3 separate regions of the Homo sapiens genome follow, and all the other regions are linked to region 3. The links are contacts of gene promoters, found by promoter capture Hi-C in blood cells and fetal thymus (Javierre and others, 2016). All regions are on one chromosome and are shown on one strand. The core of a region is centred on a gene start or on the middle of the fragment in contact, and the rest is flanking DNA. Distances in the headings are between cores, read along the strand shown.

The links. Contacts are between HindIII fragments. The CHiCAGO score rates a contact against its expected background, and 5 or more counts as called.
Region 1: a fragment that was not itself captured here is called in contact with the fragment with the promoter of RBM15B in region 3 in 9 of 17 cell types (M1 macrophages, M0 macrophages, megakaryocytes and 6 more); the score reaches 9.8 in M1 macrophages.
Region 2: a contact is called between a fragment that was not itself captured here and the fragment with the promoter of RBM15B in region 3, in 3 of 17 cell types (naive CD8 T cells, activated CD4 T cells and M1 macrophages). The highest score is 8.6, in naive CD8 T cells.

What each region holds. Positions count from the first base shown.
Region 1 is chr3:50,627,187-50,631,765 of GRCh38, reverse strand. All of the region lies in intron 2 of MAPKAPK3 (MAPK activated protein kinase 3), which reads right to left. Among named protein-coding and RNA genes, the nearest start is that of MAPKAPK3, 12 kb to the right of the region's middle. The HindIII fragment of the contact is 2,368 bases long and covers 386-2,753 here.
Region 2 is chr3:50,676,563-50,681,429 of GRCh38, reverse strand. The region is part of intron 1 of DOCK3 (dedicator of cytokinesis 3); the gene reads right to left. Among named protein-coding and RNA genes, the nearest start is that of MIR4787, 3.9 kb to the right of the region's middle. The HindIII fragment of the contact is 1,631 bases long and covers 1,471-3,101 here.
Region 3 is chr3:51,387,881-51,392,727 of GRCh38, reverse strand. RBM15B (RNA binding motif protein 15B) reads right to left here and starts at 1,443. Exons shown (of 1, transcript NM_013286.5): 1 at 1-1,443. The coding sequence starts at 1,328. MANF (mesencephalic astrocyte derived neurotrophic factor) reads right to left here. Exons shown (of 4, transcript NM_006010.6): 4 at 3,331-3,823. The coding sequence ends at 3,639. RefSeq lists silencers at 830-889, 1,000-1,079, 1,120-1,599 and an enhancer at 1,920-1,969. The HindIII fragment of the contact is 3,377 bases long and covers 1-2,382 here.

The sequences.
Region 1 (4,579 bases), core at 320-2,819, 760 kb after region 3:
GTGAATAAGACAAAACACTTTGAACCTACCATACTCCCTCCTTGACAAGTCTTCGACTCAGCCATCTCTAAGATCTCTCCCAGCTCCCAGTTGTATGATTATTTGGGATTATTTCCCATGAGGATCACATCTCAAATGATATAAGAGACACCACTGGAATAGCAGAATTTATTTTACAGCCAGTTGTTGAAACCCCTGCCAGTGCTGCTGGCACCTGTGTGGGCTATTAACACACACGGCCCTGCCAGCCAGTGTGACCCTTGTGAGCTGCTTTGCCCACTCAGAGAATGGGTCACAGCCTCAGCCTCTGCTCTGCAGGGAAGACGTCAGGATGGGATTGACCCTGAATTCAGAGTTCAGAAGCAGACTTTTCCTTCTTAAAGCTTCAGCATCTTCCTTATAATGCCAGAACCCCGCTCCTGCCCCCCATGTCCTCCCTCTCCCTCCCGACAAGGGCACTGGTGCTATTTGGAGAGCTGGAAGGTAGTGTAATATCTAACTTTTTAGCCACAGTTTCAAATCAGAGCTGCAGACATGTGCCATTATTCTCTCACAAACTCATTCTCCGAGCTTTCGTAGCTCATTAAAGGAGGTAATGGAACCAATTTTGCAGCTATGGATGAGTTGGCCTCCTGCCAGATGAGACCTCGCTTCATTAAGTTCCAACCACATCCTGTCCTCTGTCTCACCCTGTCCATTTACCTCTCCTCCTCAGAGGCTCGGTTCCAAGGAGGGCGGCTCACATGATACCACTGACCCCAAACGTCCAGGCCCCAGGTAGGTGCTGAGGGAATGATGGAGTCAGGTGGGATTAGCGCTCCCTACAGGACAACAGTCTGTCCCTGGTGCTGGGCCAGTACTGTGCAGAGGCCACCTCACACAGTGGTCACCATAACCCAACAAGGATCAGCAGCGCCCTTCTACCTGTGGGGAAATGTCCTTCTGGGAGGTTAAGTGACTTGCCCAAAGTCACACAGCTGGGCAGTGAGAGTCAAGACTGGGGACCATGTATAGCTGCTTCACCCCTTTTCCATGCAGCTTCAAGGCTTGGAGCAGGCACTCATCCCCACAACACCAGCCTGGGGAAAGCAAACAGAGAAGGCCCTGCCACTCCTTCCGAGAGCTTGGCCCACGCCCCTGGTCTGGACCAGGCCCTGCTACTCGGTGGCTGTTACAACAATGGCAGATGTTCACGGAGCCCCGCCCTGTACCAGGCATGTCATACCCATTAGCTCTTGCCCTTCAACAACTGCATTGTTAGCCACCATTTTCAGATGAGGAAACTGAGGGTCAGGGAGGCTTTGTGGATTCTCTGGGTCACGTGGTTTGCACATGGCCACCACTGAGTCAGAGTTCTTTGGGAACCAGGATTCAACTGTACAGGCCTGCCCATGTACAGATCCCCTCCCAACTCCTGCAAACATGTACTGGCCCTGTCTGGGGGCTAGACCTGGACTGGGACTGGGAATGCTGCCATGGGCACTCTGTCCTCAAGGATTTAGGGGTCTATGGATGAGTCACTGCCAACTGGGATGCTTGATGATGACATCTACACCTGGGAAACTGGTCCTGGCTCCTTCCCTTCCCTTCTCCTTTCTTTCCAGAACCAGAACCTGGCAGAACAGGCAAGATGGAGAAGGCCAGCCCCTTCTGAGGGAACTCACAAGAAAGGAGGACCCCTAAACAACCACTCCCCTTCTAGGCCAAGGCCAGGACACCTGATGGGGGGCAGGGTGGCAGCTTGACAGGCTGGGAACCTCCACCTGACCACTTCTCACCAGAGTTCTTGGGAGGGGAGGGAGTAGCTGAGGTTCCAAGCCTAGTGTCTTCCCAGGAAGCTCTGGGACAGGATAGCCAACACAAATTTTGAAATCATCAAGTCTTAGGAAGACAAGATTCCTCCAATTTACTAAATTTTGATGGCCTCAGTTGGTCTGCTTCCCACCAGCCCCAGACAACCTGGAAACAAAGGCTGAAATGCTAAGTCTGGGGGATGGGAAGAGTGGAGGGAAATGCTTCTAGAAAGAGGGACCTGAGCGAGGCTCCCAGGAAGGAAGAGGGAAGAACAGTGGGAACGTGAGTGCTAGAGGGTCCCAGTGCCCCAGACCAGGGACCATGCACAGCAGGACTAGCTGCAGCCACAGGGGTCCAGGTCTATTCCCAACTCCCCTGTGGCCTTGGGCAGGCCATTCAGCCTCTCTGAGCCTCACAGGCCCAATCTGGAAAGTGGGGATAGTGCTAATACTCCTGTTCCCAGGGAGCCACAAGGAGGGAATGAGAGCACACACAAAGAGCTCAGATGAACTTGGTGTCCAGTGCACACTGAAGGTATTGGGGGCCATGATGGTATGGGTGAAAACAGTTCCTGGGTTTGCTTGGGGACCCCTGGCTTTAGGATTCCCCTGGGTCTTCCTGAAATGGCCTTACACTCCTCCCCTCCTTGTTTCCCAGAATTCAGGGAAAGCTAGGTGCAGCCTTGGGGACCTGGGGGAGGCAGAACCTCTCCAATTCAGCAGGTCACAGGAAATGGTCTCATATCCTCAGAGGGGCACAGCCAGACTGGGCTCTTCAAAGGTGGACCAAGAACCTTGAGTCCACGAATCCTGTTTTGCTGTGAAAGGCTCAATAAGGAAGGGGAAGACCCTCCAGGGTGGAGAGAGGGTGGCTGATCTTAGGGGAGCGACCCTGGGGAATGGGAACCAAGACTGAAAGAACAGAAACCCACAACAGGGAACTCACCCAGCTCTCAAGCTTGGTCAACTATAGGAGGGGGCCCATCTTCACTTCTTTGTGGCAGCCCCCTACTCTCCCAGGTGGCAGACACCTTTACACCCCTCGACAACTCTGCGCATCCTTTTGAACAATGTCCCTCCTGCAAAATGTGTGACCATGGCCAGTCCTTTCACCTTCCCAAGCCCCAGCTTGCATCTGTGAACTGGGCACCCACTCTCCTCCCACATGGCTCCTGTGTTATAGCTGGGGAAAGAGGCCCTGAGACAGCTATGGCCTCCTCCCCTCCCCCAGAGGTTCTACAGTGAGAAAGTGGCAGGATCACAACTCCCTCTGCCCCTGACAGGTGTGGGATCCCAGGATTCTGCCCACAGCCTTCCCACAGAGGGCCGGGGGAGGCCACAGAGACCACCTGTGAGCCCCCTGAGTACATACTCAGAAGATCCAGGTTCTGGTATCTTCCTTTAACTTCAAAGAGGAAAAGGGGATTTTTCTATCAAAATCAGCTACATAATCTGTGAAACTTTACCCTGGTTTTATTTCTTCTATGACAGTGTAAAAATAGGACATTTTCATCATAAGACTGGAACATTTTAGCAAACACAAGTGTTTTGTTGTAATCTCAGAAATAATGTCCCATCAGTGGTCTCTCTTCATGAAGAGACCCCACAGCAGCAATGAAATATGTGCCCCCAACTGGCCAGTTGTGTGGCAGTGATGCCCACATAGCTGACACAGGGTAACAAAGGGCCATACCACCCTCCCTAGCAGGGGTGGCCAGGGCAAGTGAGGTCACGCCTAGGTGACCCCTGCTGAAGCACTCAGCAGGCCAGGCCTCTGGCCAGCTCTGGAGAGAGGGGACCCAAAACTCTCCAGCTTTCAGAAGAATGACAGCTGGTCTCTCTCGCCTGGAGGAGATGTCACAGTGATGACAAAGGAATCAGAAGTGGGCGTGGGGAGATACACTGGCTCACCCCCAGAGGCATGGCACAGAGGCCCTAGGGAACCTTCCATCCCCACCCCCAACACTGACCTTCTATCTCATATCTGCTCAGCATCTCTCCCTCATCCTTTGGCTTCATTCATGTCTCTGCAGCTCCCCACACAGGCCTGGGTGAGTACAGGCAGCCATCGCTCTCCTCAGGCTCCTCCCAGGGGTAGCAGGGGCACTAGCCATCCAGGCTTCCAGTCTCCCTTGGCCCCTGGCCCCTCTCCCCTCCTGCTCACGTTCAGCCAGAGGACTCCCAAGGCACCGACACCCAGCCTACTCCCAGAAGGCTTTCCTAGTCTCTGATCACACCATGGAGCCATAGCTATGAGGAAGAGGGGGAGGCCCTGCCCTCTAGGGGACCAGGGTGGTGGCCTGGCAGCTCTGAGGGACACTGCCTGTTCCTGCCACGAGACTAGGCGGCAGTGACTCACTCCCCCTCTCCTGGGCCTGCCTAGGGTAAGGACACACCCTGGTACTGGCTCAGCCTGACTCAAGCACTTAATTAGTCCATGAAGTACAGCGGAAGGGGTCTCCAAACCTGAGTCATAACCCTCAGAGCTCCTGACCCTGGCAGAATATAGCCCTTGCTGGTGGCATCACCATAGCCAAATGTTCCCCTGACAACACCATTTGCTGACTGGTGTGGGAGAGGCATCCTGGGGCACCCTCTGACCAGTCTCTATGCTGTCTGTCTACTTGCAAGATCAGCACCAGCAGTGGGCAAGGCAGGCCCCCACGACCTGCCTGCTTCCCTGGCACTGCCGATGATCATTGCCCACCTAACATGTCTTCACAGCCAAAAGGGAGGCCTTTGCCAAGCAGAGCACCCAGGCCCTCATTTTTTTTTTTTTTTTTTTT
Region 2 (4,867 bases), core at 1,037-3,536, 710 kb after region 3:
CAATAATGCTTACATGTTGGGAATAATTTCAGATCATTCTTAAAGAATAAAGACACAAAAATTTTAAAAAATTCAAAATACAAACTATTAAAAATTAAAATTTAGCACCAATGTAAAAATATGCTATGAAGGTTAAAGTACTTTCAACCTCAATGACCATTCTTTTGAGACTGCCCTGCTTCAGAATGCATCTAATACTACACAGAAATAGGTGCCATGTTTACAATTTAGCTTAATGTTTCTAAATCATATTCTAATACTGCATGATAAAACGAACTAGAAATCTGAAGTCTACTGAATAGACTTAAGATGATTAAAAACTTAAACATAAGACCCAAAACTATAAACCTACTAAAAGAAAACATAGGGAAAATGCTTCAGGACATTGGTCTAGGCAAAGATTTTATGACTAAGACCTCAAAAGCACAGGCCACAAAAACAAAAATAGACAAATGGGGCTACATTAAACTAAAAGCTTCTGCACAGCAAAGGAAAAAGAGTAAAGAGACAATCTACAGAATGGGAGAAAATATTTGCAAACTATTTATCTGATAAGGGACTAATATACAGAATATACAAGGAACTCAGCAGCAAAACCAAATAATCCCATTAAAAAGTAGGCAACAGGCTGGGCACAGTGGCTCATACCTGTAAACCCGCCACTCCCCAGGAGGGAGGGTCTCTTGAGGCCAGGAGCTCAAGACCAGCCTGAGTAAAATAGCAAGACCCAGTCTCTATAAAAAAAAAAAATTAAAAATTCGCTGGGCATGGTGGCATGGACCTGTTGTCCTAGCTACTGGAGAGGATGGCTTGAGCCCAGGAGTTCAAGGTTACCATGAGCTACGATCATGCCATAGCACACAAGCCTGGGTGACATAGCAAGACCTCGTCTTAAAAAAAAAAAAAAAAAAAAAAAAGCAGGGCACGGTGGCTCATGCCTGTAATCCCAGCACTTTGAGAGGTCAAGACGGGCAGATCACTTGAGGTCAGGAGCTCGAGACCGGCCTGGCCAATATGGTGAAACCCCGTCTCTACTAAAAATAGAAAAGAATTAGCCAGGTGTGGCGGCGCACACCTGTAATCCCAGCTACTCAGAAGGCTGAGACAGAAGAATCGCTTGAACCCAGGAAGCGAAGGTTGCAGTGAGCCGAGATCACCCCATTGCACTCCAACCTGGGCATCACGGCAAGACTCTGTCTAAAAAAAAAAAAAAAGAAAGAAAAAGAAAAAAATAGTCCAATACAGAAATAAAATTCCTTAAATATAACTATCCAGTTTAAATTGAAAACTGCAGAGTATGTCTTATCTTTCAAGCCACAGTCATATACTACTGACAATTCCTTTCAGAGGACACGGTGTAATAATACAATCTGTGGCTTAGAATCTCAAAGTCCTAGGTTCAAATCTCAACTCAGCACTTACTATCTAAAGTATCTTAGATCAGTTACTTAATTTCTCTCAGCTAAAGCTTCTTTCTCATCTGTTTAAAAAAGAGGGGAGAGGTGGTGATATAGTGTAAAGCTCAAGTAGAATCATGAATAAGGAAGTTCCCCATAAACACTAAACAAGACATCAAGCACATCCTCACTTTTCAGAACAAAATAAAGTCATAGGTCTATGAAATCTTTCCTACCCCTAGTGGATGATGTCTTTACCTCTAAAGGGGTATTGGGGCCCTTCCAGAGGTTGCAAAGGTTGGGCTTCCCTCACTGAATAAATAACTAAAGAGCACACTGTCTTCAGACTATTTTGGTGAGTTCTAGTCCATTTACCAACAGATTTACTCAAATTTTGTGAACACTAATTCTTCCAGATCTGGTTTCAAGGATCTATTTCCTCCCCACCTTCAGATTCTTTTCCTGCACCACAGGATCTTTACAAGTTTCTTTTAAGGACTCAGGATTTGTTTGTTTGTTTGTTTGTTTGTTTTTAAGTGCTTTTCTTCCCTATCTGGAGAAACCTAACCAAAAGGAAGTTAGGTAAAAATAATGCATAAAATACGCATTACTTTTTAAATAGGAAAAAATAAATATAACATTACAAAACTAAAATGTAAGGTCTTCAGATTGGTAATGAGAAAAATTTTTCATGTTCTACTAAGAGGGATTAATAAAAAATAAGCAATAAATGCCCTAAATTACTCAAAAATTTGCCTTAGCTGGGCACAGTGGCTCACAGGTATAATCCCAGTGACTTGGGAGGCTGAGGTGGGAGGATAGCTTGAAGCCAGCAGTTTGAGACAAGCCTGGGCAACATAGCAAGACCATGTCACTAAAAAAAATTTTTTTTAATTAAAATTTAAAAATTAGCCAGGCAAGGCTGGGCGCAGTGGTTCATGCCTGTAATCCCAGCACTTCGGGAGGCCGAGGCGAGCGGATCACAAGGTCAGGAGATTGAGGCCCTCCTGGCTAACATGGTGAAACCTCATCTCTACTAAAAATACAAAAACAAAATTAGCCGGGCATGGTGGCGGGCACCTGTAGTCCCAGCTACTCGGGAGGCTGAGGCAGGAGAATGGCATGAACCTGGGAGGCAGAGCTTGCAGTGAGCCGAGATCACGCCACTGCACTCCAGCCTGGACGACAGAGCAAGACTCCGTCTCAAAAAAAGAAAAAAAAAAATTAGGCAGGCAAGGTAGTAAACACCTGTAGTCCCAGCTACTTGGGAGACTGCTGCAGGGGGATCGCTTGAGCCCAGGAGTTCAAGGCTGCAGTAAGCTATGATCATGCCGCTGCACTCCAGCCTGGATGACAAGAGCAGGACCCCACCTCTCAAAAAAAAAAAATTGCCTAATGACAGCAGCAGAATAAACAAGATGACCTTCTGAAGCAGCTTCCACTTCTAAGACGTCAAACTAATACCTATGTACTCAAACCTTTACCACTTTTCTATTCAAGGAGTGTAATTACAAACATTTTTGTTTTAAAAACTGTTGGTGCTTGCTGCTCCTGCTGTTGCTCCTGTTAGAGGGTGAGAAAAGCATTTTCTTGGTTTTTGTATTCTATATTTGGTACTCTGGGTACAGTCAGTATAGGGAAAGACAGGTGTTTCACAAAAATAGCTGGATTTTTCTCACCTAATACACTTTAGAGCAGGAAGCTTCTTGGAAAGGTAGAATAAAGAATGGAAGGATGCAGGACTTTCCAAGCATTCATGGCAACAGAAAGGAAAGCAGAGATTCTCTAAGAGGGAAAGGGACATAAGAAGTCAAAACACGGGCGAACGGGTACAGTAAAGAACAGTACCTTACAGTACCACAAAAAGAAAGCAAGACAGTCAAGTATTTCACAAAATACTGCCCACTGCCAAGAAGAAAATTAAGAAAAATATACAATCGTTGAAGGACAAAAAAAAAAAAATTAACAACCTTTGGGATCCAGTTTCTTTATCTGTGTAATAATGATAACATTAAGACTACTCTGGGAATCGACATGGGGTTACCTAAGTGAGAGTCCCAGGCACACTGACAGGCCTATCACTGACCCTCAGAAAGGATAATGTCCTCCCCACTGCCTAAAATCACTCACAGAATATTACAATGGAAAGGGGGGCTCAGTCATCACCTCATCCTAAATGAATAAACCAAACAATTCAGTCATGTTATAACCTGTACAGAATTCCTATATTATAAAAAATTTAATAAGTATTACTACAGGATCTCAAAGCCTTATCAATGTCAAATACAAATGAACAGCTGCAGTGGAAAAAACCCTTTGTACTGCTGCAACAGGGGACTCCTTCCCTCACTAACATCAGGGCAAAAGGAGGCCCTCGAGGCCCTCCTCCACAAATTTCTCCAAATTGGTAGGAAGTAAGTGTAAGGGGTTTCCCTCCTTGCTATGTGATTATAGGTTGACAAACAAAGACACAAATCTGTGCTCCAAGTTAGTCATAAAAATCAAAGCTGAAACTCAAACATTTTCTCACAGGAAAATGATAATGGTTATATTTTCAAGCTAGCCCTCATAGCAATCAAATGATGCAGCAAAAATGCCGTTTTAATTGACTATTTTTCTCATAAGTATAATGTATAAGCTACTTTATAAAGTGGATTTTATGAAAAGTTCTAGAAGTGTAGCCCTAACATCCTTATGAAAAAAAATGTGTCCTGAGTTTTAAACAATTTACACAAAAACTTTTAGATCATAACTAAGGAAGGGACAGTGGAAGACTGTGAGATAAATAGAGAGTTGCTTGGTTTGGTAGAAAAGGCATCTAAGTTATGCTAAACCACAGCTGCTATGAAAATGTCTTCAGTGTAACTGTCTCTCTCATTTAGCAAGCATTAAGCTCTGCCCTGAGCCCAATGCTGTGGCCCTCCAAAGGGAATAACAATTTTTCTAAAGCTAAAAACACAATCCTAGGAATGCAAGAATTTCGTTGCATCTTGCTGGGAAAATCACACACCAAATCCTAGTGCTTTGAGATTCACATGTACCTATCTTGATTACCTTGCACTGGCTCTGTCTCAGAACACACTTAGTGTTATTAGTCTAAATACTAAGGGAAAAGAAGAAACTATTAAGCATTCAGCACGTTCTCATTTCACTTTCACAATCCTGTAAGATAGGTAAACATTATCCCCAATTTATACATTAATAAAATGACGTTAAATGATGTTAAATTACTTGCCCACACCACCAGTAAAGAGAAGCTAGGACTCTGAATTCCACTTTGTCCACTATTCAAGGGCTCCTCCCCCCACGCCCCCACCCCCGCCAAAATAGGGCTCCTCCCCCCTCCAAAAAAATCAATCATGGGGTGCCACTGGAGAGTTGACCACTCACATCAATTATTTGTTATTCTAGTTCAGCAGTTCTGGGAGCGAGTTATGGAGAAGATAAACCACCAACTCCTCACTTCACAG
Region 3 (4,847 bases), core at 194-2,693:
CTCCCAAAGCGGTCAAACTCTCGGGCCAGAGCCGCCAGTGACGTGTTAGGTCCCAGGCCACCCACCCAGAGACGAGTGGTGGGGTTGGCCTTGCCATAGCCTATCTTAATGGGGTTGCGACCAATCACTCGGCCCGACATGGCCACCTTAGCCCTATGGGCCATGTCCAGGTTCTGGAACTTGAGGAAGGCATAGGCACCGCCCTGGCCACGGGCAGGCCTCTTGATGACCACCTCCTCGATGATGCCATATTTCTCGAAGGCCCTTCGCAGCTCCACCTCAGATACGCTGTGGTCCAGGTTACCAATGAAGAGGTTGCGCGTGGCCCGCTGGTCATCCTCGGGCATCAGGTCCTCCTCACACACAGCTGGGTAGCCATAGGGGCGCCCACGGTCGTCGTACAGCCCGTAGTAGTCCAGGGCCCGCTCCCGGGACAGTCCCACGGCGGCGGCAGCAGCGGCATCCAGGGCGAAGGCTGCGGCGGCGTGACGGGCACGGGGCTCCCGCAGGGGCGGGGCAGCGACGGGGGACAGCGAGCGCTGCTTGTACTGGTAGCCTCCGTGTAGCGGGAGGTAGCCGAGCGGGTCGGCGGGCGCGGGCGGCCCTGGGGGAGGCGTGGAAGCGGCGGCGCTGCTGCTGCTACTTCGCCGACTGCTCCCGCCGCCGCCACGCAGGTACACGGGCTCTACCTTGAGCGGGCGGTCGTAGAGCAGCAGCTGCCGGGCCAGGGCGTGCTGGCGGGCCTCGCGTGCGTCCTGTGGGTGCCGGAAATTCACGTAGGCCACACGGCCCAGCTCAGGCGTGTGCGACAGGCGGAGGCTGATCTCGCCGAAGCGCTTGAACTGGTGGAAGAGCCGGTCCTCGAGGTGCTCGGCGGGCAGCGCGGGGCTCAAGCTGCTGATGAGCAACGTCTTGTACTCAGGCGCGGCCGCGGATGAGCCGGGACACGCGGGCTCGGCCCCAGGCGGTGGCGGAGGCGGCGGCAGAGGAGACGCGCGGGGCGACATGCCGGAGGCGCCCGGGTCCCCCGAGGCCTTGCCGCCGCGTCCCCCGCCGCCAGCGCCGGAGCCCGAGGAGCGCCCGCTACTCGCGCGGTGATTCGCGTCCCCGGTGCCGCGGCCGTCGCGATGCCCGCCCCCGCCGCTTCCGCTGCCGCGGGGTTTGTCGCGGGCCCGCGCTGGAACCGGGTGCTTGGCGCCGCCAGAGGCCTTGTGCGCCGCCCGCCGCCCGCCCGCCTCCGCCTCCCGTTCGCGCTCCCGCGGACGCTTGGCGGACGATGACGAGCCGCGCCCGCTCGGGCTAGAGTCTCGCTCGCTCTGCCGCTTCATGGCGCTGGCGCGGCGGGCGGGCGGCCCGTAGGTTTCTCACAGCGGCGGCGGCGGAGGCGGCGGCCGAGGAGGCAGCGCCCCCGGCGCCGCCATCTTGGACAAAAGGACTCGGCGCGGCGGTGGCGGCGGGGCGGGGCGGGAGCGGCGCCGAGGGGCCGGGCATTGCGTTATCAAGGTGCGCCGTCCTGCCACGTGACTCTGCGGCGGGCGGAGCAAGACCCGCGCCGGGCCTGCCTCATCGCGCTGCGTCGCCCAGTGCCAGGTGACCCTGTGAGTGCTGGGTGAGTGGGACCGGCCGCGCGCTCTGGCGCCACCGCGCGGCCCGCATGGCCGATGCTTGAGGCTACGCGGAGTGTAGTGAACCCTGAGAGGCCGGCGAGACGACCTAACGCTTTGTGCTCCCAGCCGTGCTTTGCCGCTCTGGGTCCAGCTATCTCCTCTTGCAGGCACTGGAGCCCGCGCTGATTGGAGCAGGAGTGGCAGCTTCCATGGCCGTTGGGATCTGGGGCATTGACCCAGTCAGTGGTCTCTTTATGTAGTATCCCCTCAGTCCTAGGACTAGGCTTGAGCAAACCCCACATCACCCTCGTTGGCATCTCCTGCCTGGGATCCGGCGTTGACGGCGCCAAGGACTAATGCATGCCTATCCTTAGACCCTGCCCAGGACCCAAGGCCCACATTCTGCGCATTCTCCACGTGCAGGTTCACCTGCAGCAGTCCCCGAAAAGGCCGTGAGGACAATTGCTGTCACGCAGGTAATAACCGAAAGCAGAGACAAGCCTGCAGTTGCAGTTGATGGAGTTGGAATAGACTCTTTAACGCCACTCTTGGGTCCCACCCTCTTCTGTGGGCAGATAGCAGGCTGGAAAGGTAGGGCCGTAAGAGCCAAGGATGAAGAGGCCATATGCACAGATAGTGCCAGCAGTTATCACACCTTGCCACGCTGACCCCTCGCTGGCCAGTACCCTCCTGTTCATCACCTTCAGGACGACCTCTTCTCCCCAGGTGAGGTGAGGGAAAGGGTGCCCAGGTGCTCAAGCCCATTGAGGAAGCTTTCATTCTCCAAGGACAGTTGCTGGAGCCATGGTAGAACCTGACCCAATTTCTGGCACAGAATCCTTGCGATGGGGAAGAGCAGACCAAGTCATGCCCTCTTCGCACAAAGAGAAAGCAGCTCCTGGAGTAGCTCAGGCAGGTGCAGGGGGAAAGGTCTTGGAAGAAAGCAATGGGTTCCACAGCAGCAAGGCCTCCTACAGGCAAACTGAGCTTAGGAGACACAAGTGAAGTGATCTGAGGCAAGACCAATTACTTGGAAAGCACTGGTTCTTAGTCCGTCCTTTCAGGTGGTTTCTACAGGTGTCTTCATTGAGCCACAGCTCACACTAACAACTGGGTTTCCTAAGCACCAGTGCCACAGAGAGTGGCTTAAGAAGCAGACTCCAGCAAAACCCTGGACCTCAACTGTTAGACTAATCTAGGGTAAACAAAGGCAAAAGGCAGCTTCCCACTCCCTCTTTGTATAAGCTGACTCCTGCCAGACTTGCAAAAACTGGAACAGACATCAGAGGCTTGGAATGGACAAAAGAGCAAGTAGGTGGCCAGGCCAACAGCATCTTTATAGAGATGTCAGTGCTGACGTGCACTGATTGAAGATATCCTTGTGGAAAAACCACACTCCAGACACCCTGTCTTGCTTGTACTGAGCCACAATATAAGGCCCTCCAATGTATCCCAGACTCACTCCTCCTAGAGCTGTGGCCTCCAGCTCTCTTGGGCGGGTAAGACAGATACTGTATCAAGGGGCAGGGTATCAAGCGCAGCACCCCCCGCCCCCGCCACCTCCTTTCTGCTGAGTGCCTGCTGCCCTCTAGTGGTACACACCCACACACATCAGCTGGCCCCAGCCCCTATGTCCTGCTCTGGTATTTTCAGCACTGGTGGGTTGAGAGATAAATGGGAATGAATAACCCCCCAAACTCTGCAACTGGAAAGCAGAAACTGGTAGGAGCCTCCTGGGGCAAAACCCCATTTTGGTATTCACTATAATTCTGCAAGGACAGCTAGAAATTTTTTTTCTTTAATAAAAAAATCCCAGACACACTTTGAAGTCCTAGAGTACACCAGCAACAGAAGGAAGGGAATCCCCTCATGGGGGTACTGTAGGGCCAGCATCATCAGGAAAGCTCCAGGCTTCACATCTGATACAGTATTGTCAGGAGCCCACTTAAAAAATAAATTACAAAAAGGCTGTTTTGGGAGTAAGCAGTTGAACTGTTTTTTCCCCCTCAGGTGCAACAGAGATTGAGCAGACTACAAATCGGTCCGTGCACTGGCTGCCTTGGGGGCATATTTAGGCATCAGTTCATTTATCTTCCGGATGTAGTCAGACTTTTCTGCACAGCCTTTGCATGTCTCCCCCCAGTCATCCAGAATCTTCTTCAGCTCTTTAACTCGGAGCTTCTTCAGGTCCACTGTGCTCAGGTCGATCTGCTTGTCTGGAGGAGAGAGCAGGGAGAGTCACTGACTGGGTGGAGCACCTGCAGTCCCCCAGTAGTCCCAGAGTATGTCACTCCCTGAACGGCCAAACCAGCCCTACTGGTTTCAGAGGAAGAGACATTTCCAGACACATTTACAGGCATGTCAGTGCCTACTGCCCCCACAAGAGGGAACTAGCCTCTTCACCAGGAAGGCTGGCTACATATTATGTCTACTACAGATATGCAGCGTGAACAAGGATAGGGACAGAGGCCACACTGTCCTTATAGGAGAAACATGGTTCCCATCTTCCAAGTGCCTCTGACATAGTCACCACATACTAACAACTCCAGGCTGGTGCCAAAGAGCAGCCCTGCTCAGGCCTTTGAGTTAGGAACTTACTCTCCATGACCACAGTGACCTGGAGCCAACTGGACCTGTACCAGGAAGACGCAAGTAGGTGAACACAGGTCCTTGGCCATTCAAGTTTTTCAGAAGAGGCCCTGACTGTTTCTGAAGACTGGGACTATGTACACCAGAGACCCAGTCAGCAAGAGAGATGCTGTAGTTCCTAACTCTTGGGCTTGCATGCTTGGACATAGTGTTTCTTTTCAGAATAGTAAAAATCACTGGGGCTTCAGAGCTTGCAGCCAGAACCAGCCTGTTAAACCCAAGTCGTACTATGTCCCTTCTCTGCTGAAAAACTCCTAATGCTCCTAACTTCACGCAGATTAAAAGCCCTCACCAGCCTGCAATGCTCTCTGACTTGCCATGCCACTGGACACCTTTATCCTGCCTGTATCCTCTTCCATTAGCTGGCCTCTTGGCTAATCCTCACCTCCTTCAAAGTTTGCTGAAATATCACTTCTTCAATAAGGCCTATTCTGACCTCCACCCACTTCCATGCCAGAGCCCTCCAGCATTTAGCACCATCTGTCATACAATACAACCCACTCATGACTCTAGCTCATCATTTTCCTCTCCCAGATGGGAAACAAACCCAGAAGGTGCACAGCATTCATTAAGAAAGGACTAGGCATACTC